Regions from separate parts of the Homo sapiens genome. Here regions 2, 3 and 4 are each linked to region 1. The links are contacts of gene promoters, found by promoter capture Hi-C in blood cells and fetal thymus (Javierre and others, 2016). All regions are on one chromosome and are shown on one strand. Each heading gives the region's core, a stretch centred on a gene start or on the middle of the fragment in contact. The rest is flanking DNA. Distances are from core to core; before and after follow the strand shown.

Region 1 (3,282 bases), core at 1-2,500:
TGTTCAGCCCTCCGCCCCAAATCGTTCACGATTAGAGACTGTGACGTTTCAAAAGGTATACAGGTGGAAAAAAAACACCTATTTGAGTAAATATAGTTTGTAGCTCGAAATAAAAGATGCAGACCAGGGGCCGGACGCGGTGGCTCATGCCTGTAATCCCAGCACCGTGGGAGGACGAGGCGGGCGGATCATCTGAGGTCAGGAGTTTGAGACCAGCCTGGCCAAAACATGGTGAAACCCCGTCTCTATTAAAAATGCAAAAATTAGCCGGGCGTGGTGGTGGGCGCCTGTAATCCCAGCTACTCTGGAGGCTAAGGCAGGAGAATCACTTGAACCCAGGAGGCGGAGGTTGCACTCCAGCCTGGGCGACAAGAGTGAGACTCCGTCTCAAAACAAAACAAAAACAAACAAACAAACAAAAAAAGGTGCAGACTGTTGTCACGGTCAGGTCTCTATTCACTCTTGAAAACAAGATTGACAATTACCTCCTTTAAAAAGCAGATAACTGTCCCTGAAGATGCGAGGTTACTGAAATGAGATGTCAGAGGTAGACCTTCAAGACTATTCCTAGCCGACCCACCACCACCCCACACAGTGAACAGGGAATACTAAGCTCAAATATTCGTCCAACGTAATCCTGTAATCAGTGGGGTGCCGGGTTGAGCTCGCAAATCCCCGCTGCAGGACAGGGCTCTGCACCCTCAATCTTCTCATCCCCAGATGGGATGGGCGGGTCGGGAGGAGGAGCGACGAGAGCCCAGGAAAGCTTGAAGGCAGAGATAGACTCACGTCTCTAAGACATATACATAATATAGCCGCAACCGCGGCGGCCTTACTTTCCCGGAGCTGCATCCCCTTTTAGGCGAAGAGCGGAGGCGACCAGGGACTACCCTAGGTGAAAGGGCAGCCACCTGGCCCTACCCGGGCTCAACGCCGAGCCTCTCGGAGGTACGGCCTCCCGGGGACCTTCCAGACTGGTCGGCGCAAGCGAAGGGCGGGGACCACCGAAGGAGTGTGTGACTTAGGCATCCAGCGCACTGCCTGACCCGAAGTACCGACCCGAGTTATGCCCACCCTCCAACTTTGCGACGGAAATGTGTCATCGAAAGCCAGGTAACCAGTGGGCCGCGGCTGGGCCGCCGGGGCAGGCTAGGGGCGCCGCGGTGGGCTTCGGGGCCTTTGGGGCCGTGGGCTTTTGCTGCCGCCCGCCCCTTCCGGCTCCTCCCTGTAGAGCAAAGGGCACGTGAGCGAGGCGCCCGAAGCCGTCGCGGCGGGGACCATGTTGCTTCCGAACATCCTGCTCACCGGTCAGGGCGCGCGGCCGGGAGGGACTGGGCTGGGGCAGGCTGGGGGCGCAGAGTGCTCTGGGCATCGGGCGCCCAGGTGGGGGCCCCTCACTGCCCTCTTCAGAGGCCGGCCGAGGGCCACGAGGCGGTTGTCAGCGCCCCGGGAGCCGACCCTCGCGGGCGTTGCGGGAGGCGAGGGAGGGGACGCGGAACGTTAATTCCGTTGGCCTGAGGCTCCGGGGGGGGGCGGGGGGGGGTGGAGAGAGGTCGGCAGATCCAGCTCTCCAGCTTGGCAACCTGCTTAGTCTTTCTGAATCTGGTATTTCGTTTGTAAAATGGGTTGTTGATTCTTTGGCAGGGTTGGCCTTGGGATTTTTAGCGAAATAACGTAAGGCCATATCTGCTTCCCGGTAGAGTCATTAATGGTGGATGCCTCACTCCTTAGGCCTCCGTGGGCCGTATTTTATTTTTTCTTTGCTTCTGATAAACGCCTCAGATTAGATTTCGGTAAACGAGTTCAGATGTTTGTGACGTGACGAAATTGCTGTATGCTTTTGTTGAGTTACATCAAAGGATCCCCCCGCCCCTTAAAAGGAAGGCATATAGAGCATTTCGGGTCGTTTCTCGCGTAGGAGTGGGTCTTTGAAGCCATACTCAGGGTGCATGTTATCAGTGAAGGGAATTAAAATGCTGCATAACGACTTTAACGAATATTTTTGCTAGCCGTTTAGTCCTGAAAGTGTTTATCAAATTGTAGGCCATTCGTGGAAAAATCTAATGCATGTAGATTTTATTGCAAGGTACAGAAAAATTAAGACTCTTTGTGGGAACAGTAAAGTTACATCATTCACCCAAAGGTAAAATTGTTGGCAGCGCACAAGACATGTCTGTTTCTGAGAGGTGCAGATTAACCACCCCACAAATAACGTTTAGAATTTTAGATTCCTTAAGCGGAAGATTTTACATCTTTTTGCATGGATCAAACATAGTGCCCTGGTTATTAAGTCATTGTCAAAACTTTAAAGTGAACATTTTATTGAAAACATGTTGAGTCCAGGGTTCAGACTTGGTGTATTATAGTGGACTTGAGGTGACCGTTATTCTCCTGGGTATGGGAACTGGATTATCCCTGTTATCTTTATGCTTAAGTTTAATTTCAGGGATGTTAAATCTGAATAGCTGAAAATTATGAATTTGATGATCTTGAAATGTAATTTTAATAGGTATCAGAAGGGGAAGGTAAAGAACAATGTATATAGTATTGTCATTTATGTAAAAGGGAATATGTGTTGTATTTATATAACAAAGAGTATGTACATATATGTACATTTACATGCAAACATAAATAGGGTTTCTTTGGGAAAGGAAACTGGTTTACAGTGGTTATCTCTAGGGAAGGGCGCAAGGGGTCAGTAGAGGTAATTTTCAGACTGCTTAATTTTAACATGAACAGTTTTGTTTTTGTTCTTGTTTTTGTTTTTGTTTGAGACAGAGTCTCATTATGTTGGCCAGGCTGGTCTCGAACTCCTGCGCTTAAGCGATCCTCCCGCCTTCTCCTCCCAAATTGCTGGGATTACACGCGCGAGCCACCACACGTGGCCATGAACAGTTTTTAAATCTTTATAAGTTAAAGCAAATAGGCCAGGTGGGTGGCTCATGCCTGTAAATCCCAGCACTTTGGGAGGTGGAGGTGGGGAGATCGCTTGAGCTCAGGAGTTTGAGCTTAGCCTAAGCAACATAGCCAAACCCCGTCTCTACAAAAATTAACCAGGGCATGGTGGTGCATACCTGTGGTCCTAGCTACCGGACAGGCTGAGATGGGAGGATTGCTTGAGCCCAGGAGGTAAAGGCTCTAGTGAGCCAAGTTCCACTGCACTCCAGCCTAGGTAACAAAGAGATATCTTGTCTTTAAAAAAAGAAAAAGGTAAATAAATTATTGTAATTGATTCGAGGTGGCTAATTTTTTTTTTTTTTTTTTTGAGATGGAGTCTCTGTC
Region 2 (3,282 bases), core at 271-2,770, 3.0 Mb before region 1:
CAGTGTAGTGGAAAAAGCTGCAGCATGACCACTGGAACTCCCAGTTTTGTCCTCTGTGAAATGAGGGGGTTAAGGCCTCTCAGATGTGGACTCAAAATACATTTGAGATACATGGAAATCATTGATCACAGCTTAGTAGATTTGGGAAACATCATCCTTTCTTTAGGATCCTTGGCTGTGCATGAGATAAAACGGACCAAGCGTGGCCGAAGAATCACGCACTAACAGAGTTCTGTGAGCTGCAGTAACAAGGTAACAATAAAAGTTGCTATTTATTTACAGAAAGGCAGTCCAGTGAAGTGGTTAGGAGCAGGTTTCTATTGTTGGGTGTGTTCAAATCCCACCTCTAACAGTTCCCTCTGACTTTGGGCAAATTACTTAACCTTGTTCCTCCTCTGTAAATGGAGAAAAGAATGGTACTTCTCTTGCTGGGTGTTGTCTAGAGAAAAGGAATTAATGTATGTAAACTACATTAAAGTAATGCCTGACAAACATTTTTACTATCACTCACTAGCATCTTCAGATTTAACTCTCTTCATAGAGATGTTAGAGGATAGTTTTGAAAAATGAAGAAACGTGCCGTTAAGTCTTTTAGATTGTTAGCAGAACTGAGACTCCATAAGACCTCTGCTTCCAAACTCTGCAGAAAAGAAAAAGGCCGGGCGCGGTGGCTCACTCCTATAATCCCAGCACTTTGGGAGGCCGAGGCGGGTGGACCACGAGGTCAGGAGTTCGAAACCAGCCTGGCCAACATAGTGAAACCCGTCTCTACTAAAAATACAAAAAATTACCCGGGCGTGGTGGCGCACGCCTGTAGTCCCAACTACTCGGAAAGCTGAGGCAGGAGAATCGCTTGAACCCGGGAGGCGGAGGCTGCAGTGAGCCGAGATCGCGCCACCGCACTCCAGCTTGGGCGACAGAGCAAGACTTCGTCTCAAAAATAAATAAATAAATAAATAAAAGTCACCCAAGGCGGGAGGGATGTTCCTGAAGACGAACGTCGCCCCATCTGAGGGAGCACTACAGCCCCAAGGTCAATACCCCAGCAGTCCTTCGATTTGCAGGCACTGGGGGTATCCACGACCCCCAGTGGTCACCACTGCACCCACGTGCAACTAGAGGGCGAGGGTGCGCTCCAGGCCAGTGAGTGACTTAGGAGCTGTGGCTGCTCCACAGAGATGCTAGCTGGGATCTAACACTCCCTTCTCTCCCATCCCTCCCCTCCTTCCCTAGGCTAAAGCCGCGGATACCTCCGAGAGGGCAGCGGCAGCTGACAGAGCCGGAGCCTCCCACCCCAGGATACACCAAAATCTGCAGCGCCTGCAGGAGAACTCGATTCGAGGGCCGAAATGCAGCAGCCATACTGTCTCGGACCATACCAACTACTGGAACCGGGGCGAGGAGGCGGAGCGTCGGTCCTGTCGTCGAGAGCGACAAAAGGGATTCGTCCAATTCTGGGCGCCCCGAGAGGTCGAGCTGTAACCCCGCCCCTTCCTCTGTCCGTAACCCGTTGGCTGTTCCTTTTGGTACGCTCCAAGATGGCTGCCTCCATAGTGCGGCGCGGGATGCTCCTGGCGCGGCAAGTGGTTCTTCCTCAGCTCTCTCCTGCAGGTTGGCCGGACAGCTTCATTAGGCCCCTGATTATTCTGTTTTTTGGGTGAAGGGAGCGGTGGGCTTTCAAGAGGAGAGGAAACGTTTCTGGAATCTGATTGCTAGGGACGCCATTTGGGGTGTTTGGTAGTGCAGAAGAAGGAGACAAGGTATCTGATCCATTTCCTTCCCTAAAATAACAGTATGTTCCTGTCCAAAGGTACGAAGAGCAGTGGAAGGTTATATAGCATGAGGGAATTTGCGTATGATTCGCCAGATTTATGTGTTGGGGTGGTCGTGCTTTTGCTGACCACGAAAAACCCAAATGTGCGCCGGGCGCGGTGGCCCACGCCTGTGGTCCCAGCACTTTGGGAACGCGAGGCGGGCGGATCGCCAGGAGTTCGAGACCAGCCTGGCCAACAGGGCGAAACCCCATCTCTACTAAAAAATACAAAGAAATTATCTGGGCCTGGTGGCGCGCGCCTGTAATCCCAGCTACTCGGGGGGCTGAGGCAGGATAATCGCTTGAACTCGGGAGGCGGAGGTTGCAGTGAGCAGAGATCGCGCCACTACACTCCAGCCTGGGCAACAGAGCGAGACCCTGTCTCAAAAAAAAAAAAAAAAAAAAAAAAGGAAAAACCTAAATGTGTCCATTCCTGGGGCTGGGACATTTTTCTCCCATCTGAGGTTTCTTTAGAGGGACGTCAGATAAACATTTTTCCCACCACCACACATTTAGCTGGACCCCTGGTCTTCGTGGAAGAATTTTTCAGTATTAATCTCATTTTATCTGATGACCTAGAGCACAACTTTTGATTGACCTTTCTTTGCTATAGTTTTCCACGTGTAGATAATAAATGCTATTAGTTACTTGTAAAATACTTTGATATCTGAACTAAATGGCAGCCCACTCAAAGCCTGCATAGTGGATCTGATAATGAAAACATTGGAAAAAAGTTTTAAAGTATTTATAGAAGCCAAATTTGCAGTGATTCTAACCACATAATCCAGACAGACATATTTGATAAAAATGCAATAATCACACTCGATTTTTCCATTGCCGCTTATCTTCCCTTTCCAACCTACCTCCCATCCTCTATTTTTTTAAAAAGCACGCACTTCTTTAGGAACAGCCATTAAACGTCAATGTGAAACCTCAGAGTTGGCCACCAGTTTTCTGAAGATTAAGTGGCTGACCTGGTGAAAACGTTTAATGTCACACATTAGGCAGTGTTATGCACAACGCTTGACACCTTAGTAAGAATTAGCTGTTGTAGCTATTTTCTGTTTATGTGGTTTCCGTGAACAACTACACACAGAGGGCATTTTGGGAGACCTGTCTTTCCCCACAATCACCTCCCCAGCCTTTTTTTTTTTTTTCGGGTTTCGTTCTTGTTGCCCAGGTTAGAGTGCAATGGCACGATCTCGGCTTACTGCAGCCTCTGCCTCCCGGGTTCAAGTGATTCTCCTGCCTCAGCCTCCCGAGTAGCTGAGATTACAGGCATGCGCCACCACTCCCGGCTAATTTTGTATTTTCAGTAGAGACGGGGTTTCTCCATGTTGGTCAGGCTGGTCTCTAACTCCTGACCTCAGGTGATCCACCCGCCTCTACTTCCCAAGGTGCTGGGATTACGGGCGTGAGCCACTGTGCCCAGCTGGCCCAGCTTTTTAATCTCCCAGTTCAGAACTCTT
Region 3 (3,282 bases), core at 388-2,887, 2.2 Mb before region 1:
AACAATTCTCCTGCCTCAGCCTCCCGAGTAGGTGGGATTACAAGCATGCGCCACCACACCCAGCTAATTTTGTATTTTTAGTAGAGACAGGGTTTCACCATGTTGCTCAGTCTGGTCTCGAACTCCTGACTTCATGTGATCCGCCCACCTCGGCCTCCCAAAGTGCTGGGATTACAGGCGTGAGCCACTGTGCCTGGCCCCAAAACCCACCATCTTAATGTCTAAGGGGGACAGTGAGTTCACCAAATCAAACTCTCAAAATGGGCATAACAATTGAGTTATCACCCCTAACAAAACACTTTCATTTCAGCAAGAGTTTGAATTCTTTTTCTGGAGACAACACCTTGATCTAAAATGGCTTCAAAAGTATGAATTCCATAGCTGCGTACAGGGGCACAGGTACAGTCTCAGCTACTTGGGAGGCTGAGGCAAGAAGATCACTTGAGCTCCCGACTTCGAGTCCAGCCCGAGCAACAGAGTGAGGAGACCCTGTCTCTAAATAAACTAGTAAATAAGCAATTCTAGACCATACTTTCCAAATCCAGTCTTCTTCACTATTTTTATACTCCTGAGATCCAGTATTTAAACTACTCTAACCTAAATGTAAAATTTTACATTAAAAGTATTATATACAATTTTAAGTATTATATACTTGTTGATAAAAGTTATCTGAAACAGTCTATCAAATATGAAGAATGCTTTCCATCTGAGATTCAGCACTTAGGGAGGAAATATTAAATGCCTACTAAGAAATCACTGGCCAGGTGTGGTGGCTCATACCTGTAATCCCAGCACTTTGGGAGGCCAAGATGAGAGGATCGCTTGAGCCAGGGGTTCAGTCCAGCCTGGCAATAGAGCAAGAACCCATCTCTTAAAAAAAAAATTAATAAAAATTAAAAATAAATTATTTATTCATAAAATTTATGAATTTGAATCTTTACTTTTCCCCCCAAAAGTGGTAGTACTCTATGAAGAGAAAAACTGGCCAAGTAATAGGAAAAATAAAATTAAATGCCTGCATACCAACAAATGCATAGTCTTAAGAGTCAAAAGCTCAGCCAGGAGTAGTGGCTCACGCCTATAATTGCAGCACTTTGGGAGGCCAAGGCAGATGGATCACTTGACATCAGTAGTTCAAGACCAGCCTGGCCAACATGGTGAAACCTTGTCTCTATTTAAAAAATACAAAAATTAGACAGGCATGGAGGCAGGCACCTGTAATCCCAACAACTTGGGAGGCTGAGGCAGGAGAATGGCTTGAACCCAGGAGGCGGAGGTTGCAGTGAGCTGAGATGGCGCCACTGCACTCCAGCCTGGGCAAGAGAGCAAGACTCCATCTCAAAAAAAAAAAAAAAATATCAAAAGCTTAATTCCAGTATTTTTCCTAAAAGCAATAACTATTTTAGGACATCTTAAGTAAAGGCATAAGCTGTGGAATAAATGCTGTGTTTACCTAGTTTTATATGCTCCACTCGTTCATGGAGCTGATTTACTAGTGCTTTCATCTGCTTGTAGTTCTCCTAAAACAGAAATAGAGGAGACAGGGGAGAGAAATATTAGAAAGCAATTCCTTTTTACCAAAATAAAGGTCAAAAAAAAAAAAAAAACAGTGGTCTGTGCCAACTCTGTGTGGCCGCCACACTGGGCCACCCCATCTGTGGCAGCCACGCTGGGCCACTGGATCGTATGGAAAAGATTCACCCCTGCCTGTCTTGTTCAAGCTCTTCTTCACCACCCCACTTGTCCATCTCTCCATATCTTACTCCTCTGTAAGCCTAATTCATGTTTTATCTCATCTTCAACTCTACTTCTGGCCACTCCTACTCAATTTAACATCTTTCTTCCTTAAACACCTTCTGAACTTAAACTGATCTCTATTTGTTTTCCTATTTTAAGGAATATAAGCTTTTTGAAGGTTAGAATACCATCTTATTTTTCCTGTCCCATCAGTCACTATCTGAGATTCCAACCAATGCTTGCTTACTGACAAAGTACACTTAAAAACAAATCCCAGAGGGAGAAAAAGGATCTTATTTTTATTTTTAATTTTGTATTTTTATTTTTTGGGACAGAGTCTCCCTTTGTTGCCCCGGCTGGAGTGCAATGGTGCAATCTCGGCTCACTGCAACCTCCGCCTCCCGAGATCAAGCGATTCTCCTGCCTCAGCCTCCTAAGTAGCTGGGACTACAGGTGTGTGCCACCATGCCCAGCTAATTATTGTATTTTTAATAGAGACCGGGTTTCGCCATGTTGGCCAGGCTGATCTCAAACTCCTTACCTCAAGTGATTTGCCCATCTCGGCCTCCCAAAGTGCTGGGATTACAGGCATGAGCCACCGCACCTGGCCAAGGATCCTATTTTATGTTTTAAAAAGAACAGGCTGAGTGTGGTGGCTTATGTCTGTTATCCCAGAGCTTTGGAAGGCGGAGGCAGGAGCATCGCTTAAGCCCAGGAGTTTGAGACCAGCCTGAGTAACATAGGGAGACTTCCATCTTTACAAAAAGAATAAAAATAAAAAGAATAAAAATTTAAAAATTATCTGGGCATGGTGGTGTGTCCCAGCGACTTGACCAACTAAGGTGGAAGGATCTCTTGAGCCCAGGAGTTTGAAGCTGCAGTGAACTAGGATCGTGCCATTGTACTCCAGCCTGGGTGACAGAGCAAGACTGTTTCAAATAAATAAATAAATTAGTAAAAAGAACAAAACTCGGCCAGCCGTGGTGGCTCACGCCTGTAATCTCAGCACTTTGGGAGGCCGAGGCGGGCAGATCACCTACGGTCGGGAGTTCGAGACCAGCCTGACCAACATGGAGAAAACTCGTCTCTACTAAAAAATACAAAATTAGCCAGGCAAGGTGGTGCTTGCCTGTAATCCCAGCTACTCGGGAGGCTGAGGCAGGAGAATCCCTCGAACCCGGGAGGCGGAGGTTGCAGTGAGCCAAGATTGCATCATTGCACTCCAGCCTGGGCAACAAGAGCAAAACTCCATCTCAAAAAAAAAAAAAAAAAAACAGAACAAAACTCTATGCTGGCATATATACACAAATTAAGTAATACACAAGGAAATATTGACAGTGAGAAGTAGAAAAGAGGTAGAGGGACTAACTTTTCACCCTTCTGTATTTTTAAATTTTGTTTGGTCAGCATATTACTTTAGAACAATACTTAACTAGCTAATTATCTTTGAAATTCAGACTTGGCCCACTAATACATTTTGCTCCCCATGTGATTAGCATCTCTAGTTATTTAGTTCCTTCTGTTTGACAGAACACTAAGCAACTT
Region 4 (3,282 bases), core at 451-2,950, 2.2 Mb after region 1:
AAGCAAGAACTGAATGCTGACCAAACTGGCCTTACAGGAAAAAGACTTTCAGAAAGAAAATGCAATCGAAGTGAAATGAACGACAGGCAAAGAAACAAATGCAACCTATAAAAATCAAAGAAAAATAATGAAGATGTGTTTTCCTGAGCACGGAGGTCACAGGGATTGAGCAAGGTTTTGACCAACTCCCCATCAATCTCCACATAATAAAGTGATAGATTTCTGCGACTGGGGCTGGTTTGGTTTTGTTCTTAAGTCAGAAATTATAGTTGTTTCCAGATCTTAGGCTAGAATCGAAAACTTGGGAAACACTCGGTATTTTTTATTATTTTGAAATTAAAACTCCCAAATGTAAATTGCCCCAAACTAGCAAATCTCAAAAACCTAAAAATCTTACATATGTTCCAGCCATGCAGGAGCTGAAAGAGAACTATTTACAATAGTTTTGATCAGTGTTATTTATAAAATGGAAATCTCACGAGTCTACTTAGAGCAAGTAGCACTTTTCTCTGGGGAAGTTATTGGGGAAAAGCAAAGCATTTTAGTCCCAGCTATACCAAATTTGGTGGCTTTGGGCACTTATTGGAAGGATCCAAACTCTGCTTTAAAATAGAAACACGTATGTGAGACTCAAGTCATCTCTAGAAAGATGTTTAGAAAATATGTGCAAATGTTCAGATATTGCCACAATAAAAACCCTCTGCCGAATCTTAACCATTTACTTCTAGTTCCCAAGCTCGTCCCCGAGCCCCTTCATATTCTACCCAGGGCACTCACATGCAGGATGACTGCTGGAGATCTTATGTGATTGGGGAGAGCCTCCCTCACAGGAGGAAGAAGCCTCAATAAGCAGAGATTGAGTATGCATATCTGGCAAGCCACCTTAATTAGCTTCTTCATATGTACAAACATTTCCTCACAGCCCTACTTAACGATCAGCGGTCATCATGTGCCCTAATTCAGAGACTCTGTATCAGCAATAAATTGGGCCTGGGGCAGCCTCCTCCTGCCCTGTCATTAAAGAGTCCTATTTACTGTGGCCTTTGCAGTCACTCCATCTCCTTAGCACTGGAAAGTCACTACAGCTTGCAGTGTTTACTTTGGTGGTCAACAGCAATAGGCACTCAGTGGTCCCGGCAGTAGCTCAGAGCCCATAGATTCTGTGCAATTAAGAAAATACAGCTGCATGAAGTGAGGAGTGGCCCATGGGCCTGGGGACCAAGTCAGCATGTCCTTGGCATTTACTAAGTCCAGATGTCTTTATCTTCTGGGCAGGAAGTCAGAGCCTGTCCAGATGGCATCTTGATTGCTTTTGGCCCAGCTGATTAAATTTCTAAGGCTGACATCTCTTCCAAATACCCTCTCCATCCTATGAAATGTGGTTGTCAGATAAGTGCCAGAAAGAATCCCCAGAGAGGACTGCAAACTGGGAGGGCCTGAAGGCAAACCTGAGCGCCTGAGAAGTCCGCGCTGAACACATTTCCTGCCATATGGCTGGGGTTCTGGGATTCTTTCCACTACAAGCCAGGGGATTTCTTGAGAAGCAAGAGTGAGTCTGGGATCAGACAGAGAGAGTTAGGAGCCCTGGAACTTCCACTTTCTGACCTGTGAACTTGCATGTATTTCTGAACCACTCTAACCTTTGTGCACTCATCTATAGATTTGGGATAAAAATAGCACCTACCTCATGTGAACCCGGGAGGTGGAGCTAGCAGTGAGCCAAGATCGTGTCACTGCACTCCAGCCTGGGCGACAGAGCAAGACTCCGTCTCAAAAAAAAAAAAAAAAAAAAAAAAAAAAAGGACCTACATCAACAAGTAGTTCTGAAATTATATGTGATAAATAATGCACATCAAGTGTTTACAAGAGTACCTGGCATATAGTCTGTATTACCTACATATATTTTATTTTTGCTCTTCCTTTTACTTTGCCTCCTGAGGAGCTGCTCCTTAAAACCACAAACTGAATATGGACAATAAATCAGCCTGGTCATTCACGCATGCTTTATGCTAGAAATAACACGTAATTCTTGCCAAGCATGGTGGCTTATGCCTGTAATGCCAGCTACTCAAGAGGCTGAGGCAGGAGGATCACTTGAGGCCAGGAGTTCAAGACCAGTCTGGAACACAGTGAGAACTCTGCCTATAAAAATATTTTTTTAATTACTATTTTTGTAATTTATTTTTTTTTAGAGACACGGGCTCACTCTGTCACTCAGGCTGTAGTACCATGGTGCGATCTCAGCTCACTGCAGCCTCGACCTCCTGGGCTCAGGCAATCCTCTTGCTTCAGCCCCTCAACTAGCTGGGACCACAGGCATGTGCCTCCACACCTGGCTGATTTTTGTATTTTTTGTAGAGACAGGGTTTTGCCATGGTGCCCAGGCTGGTCTGGGACTCCTGAACTCAGGCAATCTGCCTGTTTCAGCCTCCCAAAGTGCTGAGATTACAGGCGTGAGCTACTATGCCCAGCCAGAAAAAAAATTTTTTTAATACATAAAATAAAAATAATTCTTTATAGTCCTTTATGGGTTATTCTCTATAGTCCTTTCTTTCACAAGCACCCTTCAGAGGTAAGCAGGGGAGACAGTATTTCTCTTTTGTAGAAGAAGTTGAAACACTTAGAGTCTAATGATATGTCCAAGATCAAATAGGTATCTGTGTCTGAAGATGGAAACCCATGAAGGCTGTTGAACTCTTGTCTGCTGCTAATCCTGCTCACAAGAGGAAGACAGGGCTGCACATCGAGCAGAGGAACAAACAAAAGGTTCCCTTACCCCATCCTGCCTGTAACAAATGCTCCCAGTCATACTGATGGGACATTTCTGAGGTTCACTAGAATGAAGGAAGGATGCCACATTGCCATTTACGGAAGTTGTTGCCTACCTCTTAGCTAGCTTGGGCAATCCTTTCCTCCCACGCTCACTATAAAGGGCTGCGGAAATTTAATCTAATACAATGCTCACAGTAAAAAGCCTGACATAAGACAGGGTGTGCAAAATGTTCCTGAAGGGCTAAAAGTAAATAATAATATAAGTAAATTGAATAATAATATAAGTAATCTCCACTTTTGGGACTGTTAAACTCATAGGTTGTTCACTTACATTCTTAATGAAAAAATGACAGGGCTGGATTAGATTATTTTAAAACTTATTTTTAGCTTAAAATTTCTGATTTCAATGCACCACTATTGAAACTATTTTATTTCAGAGTTGAGAGTTTATCTCAGAATCCCAATTCCCAGCCCTGTACTCATTCTAGTCCCTGTATCTCAGTTCCTGTT

The links. The method cuts DNA at HindIII sites, captures the fragments that hold promoters and counts their contacts. A CHiCAGO score of 5 or more calls a contact.
Region 2: a contact is called between the fragment with the promoter of MRPS27 here and the fragment with the promoter of TAF9 in region 1, in 3 of 17 cell types (total CD4 T cells, naive CD4 T cells and non-activated CD4 T cells). The highest score is 7.2, in total CD4 T cells.
Region 3: a fragment that was not itself captured here is called in contact with the fragment with the promoter of TAF9 in region 1 in 7 of 17 cell types (activated CD4 T cells, total CD4 T cells, non-activated CD4 T cells and 4 more); the score reaches 15.7 in activated CD4 T cells.
Region 4: a fragment that was not itself captured here is called in contact with the fragment with the promoter of TAF9 in region 1 in 1 of 17 cell types (naive CD8 T cells); the score reaches 9.5 in naive CD8 T cells.

Annotation. Positions count from the first base shown.
Region 1 is chr5:69,367,488-69,370,769 of GRCh38, reverse strand. TAF9 (TATA-box binding protein associated factor 9) reads left to right here and starts at 1,250. Exons shown (of 3, transcript NM_003187.5): 1 at 1,250-1,307. It overlaps AK6 (adenylate kinase 6), which reads left to right and starts at 1,250. Exons shown (of 5, transcript NM_016283.5): 1 at 1,250-1,307. The coding sequence starts at 1,280. It overlaps RAD17 (RAD17 checkpoint clamp loader component), which reads right to left and starts at 952. Exons shown (of 19, transcript NM_133338.3): 1 at 837-952. RefSeq lists an enhancer at 149-698. The HindIII fragment of the contact is 4,867 bases long and covers 769-3,282 here.
Region 2 is chr5:72,318,478-72,321,759 of GRCh38, reverse strand. MRPS27 (mitochondrial ribosomal protein S27) reads left to right here and starts at 1,520. Exons shown (of 11, transcript NM_015084.3): 1 at 1,520-1,611. The coding sequence starts at 1,539. It overlaps PTCD2 (pentatricopeptide repeat domain 2), which reads right to left and starts at 1,387. Exons shown (of 10, transcript NM_024754.5): 1 at 1,251-1,387. The coding sequence starts at 1,377. RefSeq lists enhancers at 1,189-1,398, 1,459-1,788, 1,387-1,927, 1,928-2,469. The HindIII fragment of the contact is 19,626 bases long and covers 1-3,282 here.
Region 3 is chr5:71,591,164-71,594,445 of GRCh38, reverse strand. MCCC2 (methylcrotonyl-CoA carboxylase subunit 2) reads right to left here. Exons shown (of 17, transcript NM_022132.5): 2 at 1,454-1,520. Among named protein-coding and RNA genes, the nearest start is that of MCCC2, 5.5 kb to the right of the region's middle. The HindIII fragment of the contact is 540 bases long and covers 1,368-1,907 here.
Region 4 is chr5:67,202,600-67,205,881 of GRCh38, reverse strand. No RefSeq gene overlaps it. Among named protein-coding and RNA genes, the nearest start is that of CD180, 7.4 kb to the right of the region's middle. The HindIII fragment of the contact is 3,432 bases long and covers 1-3,282 here.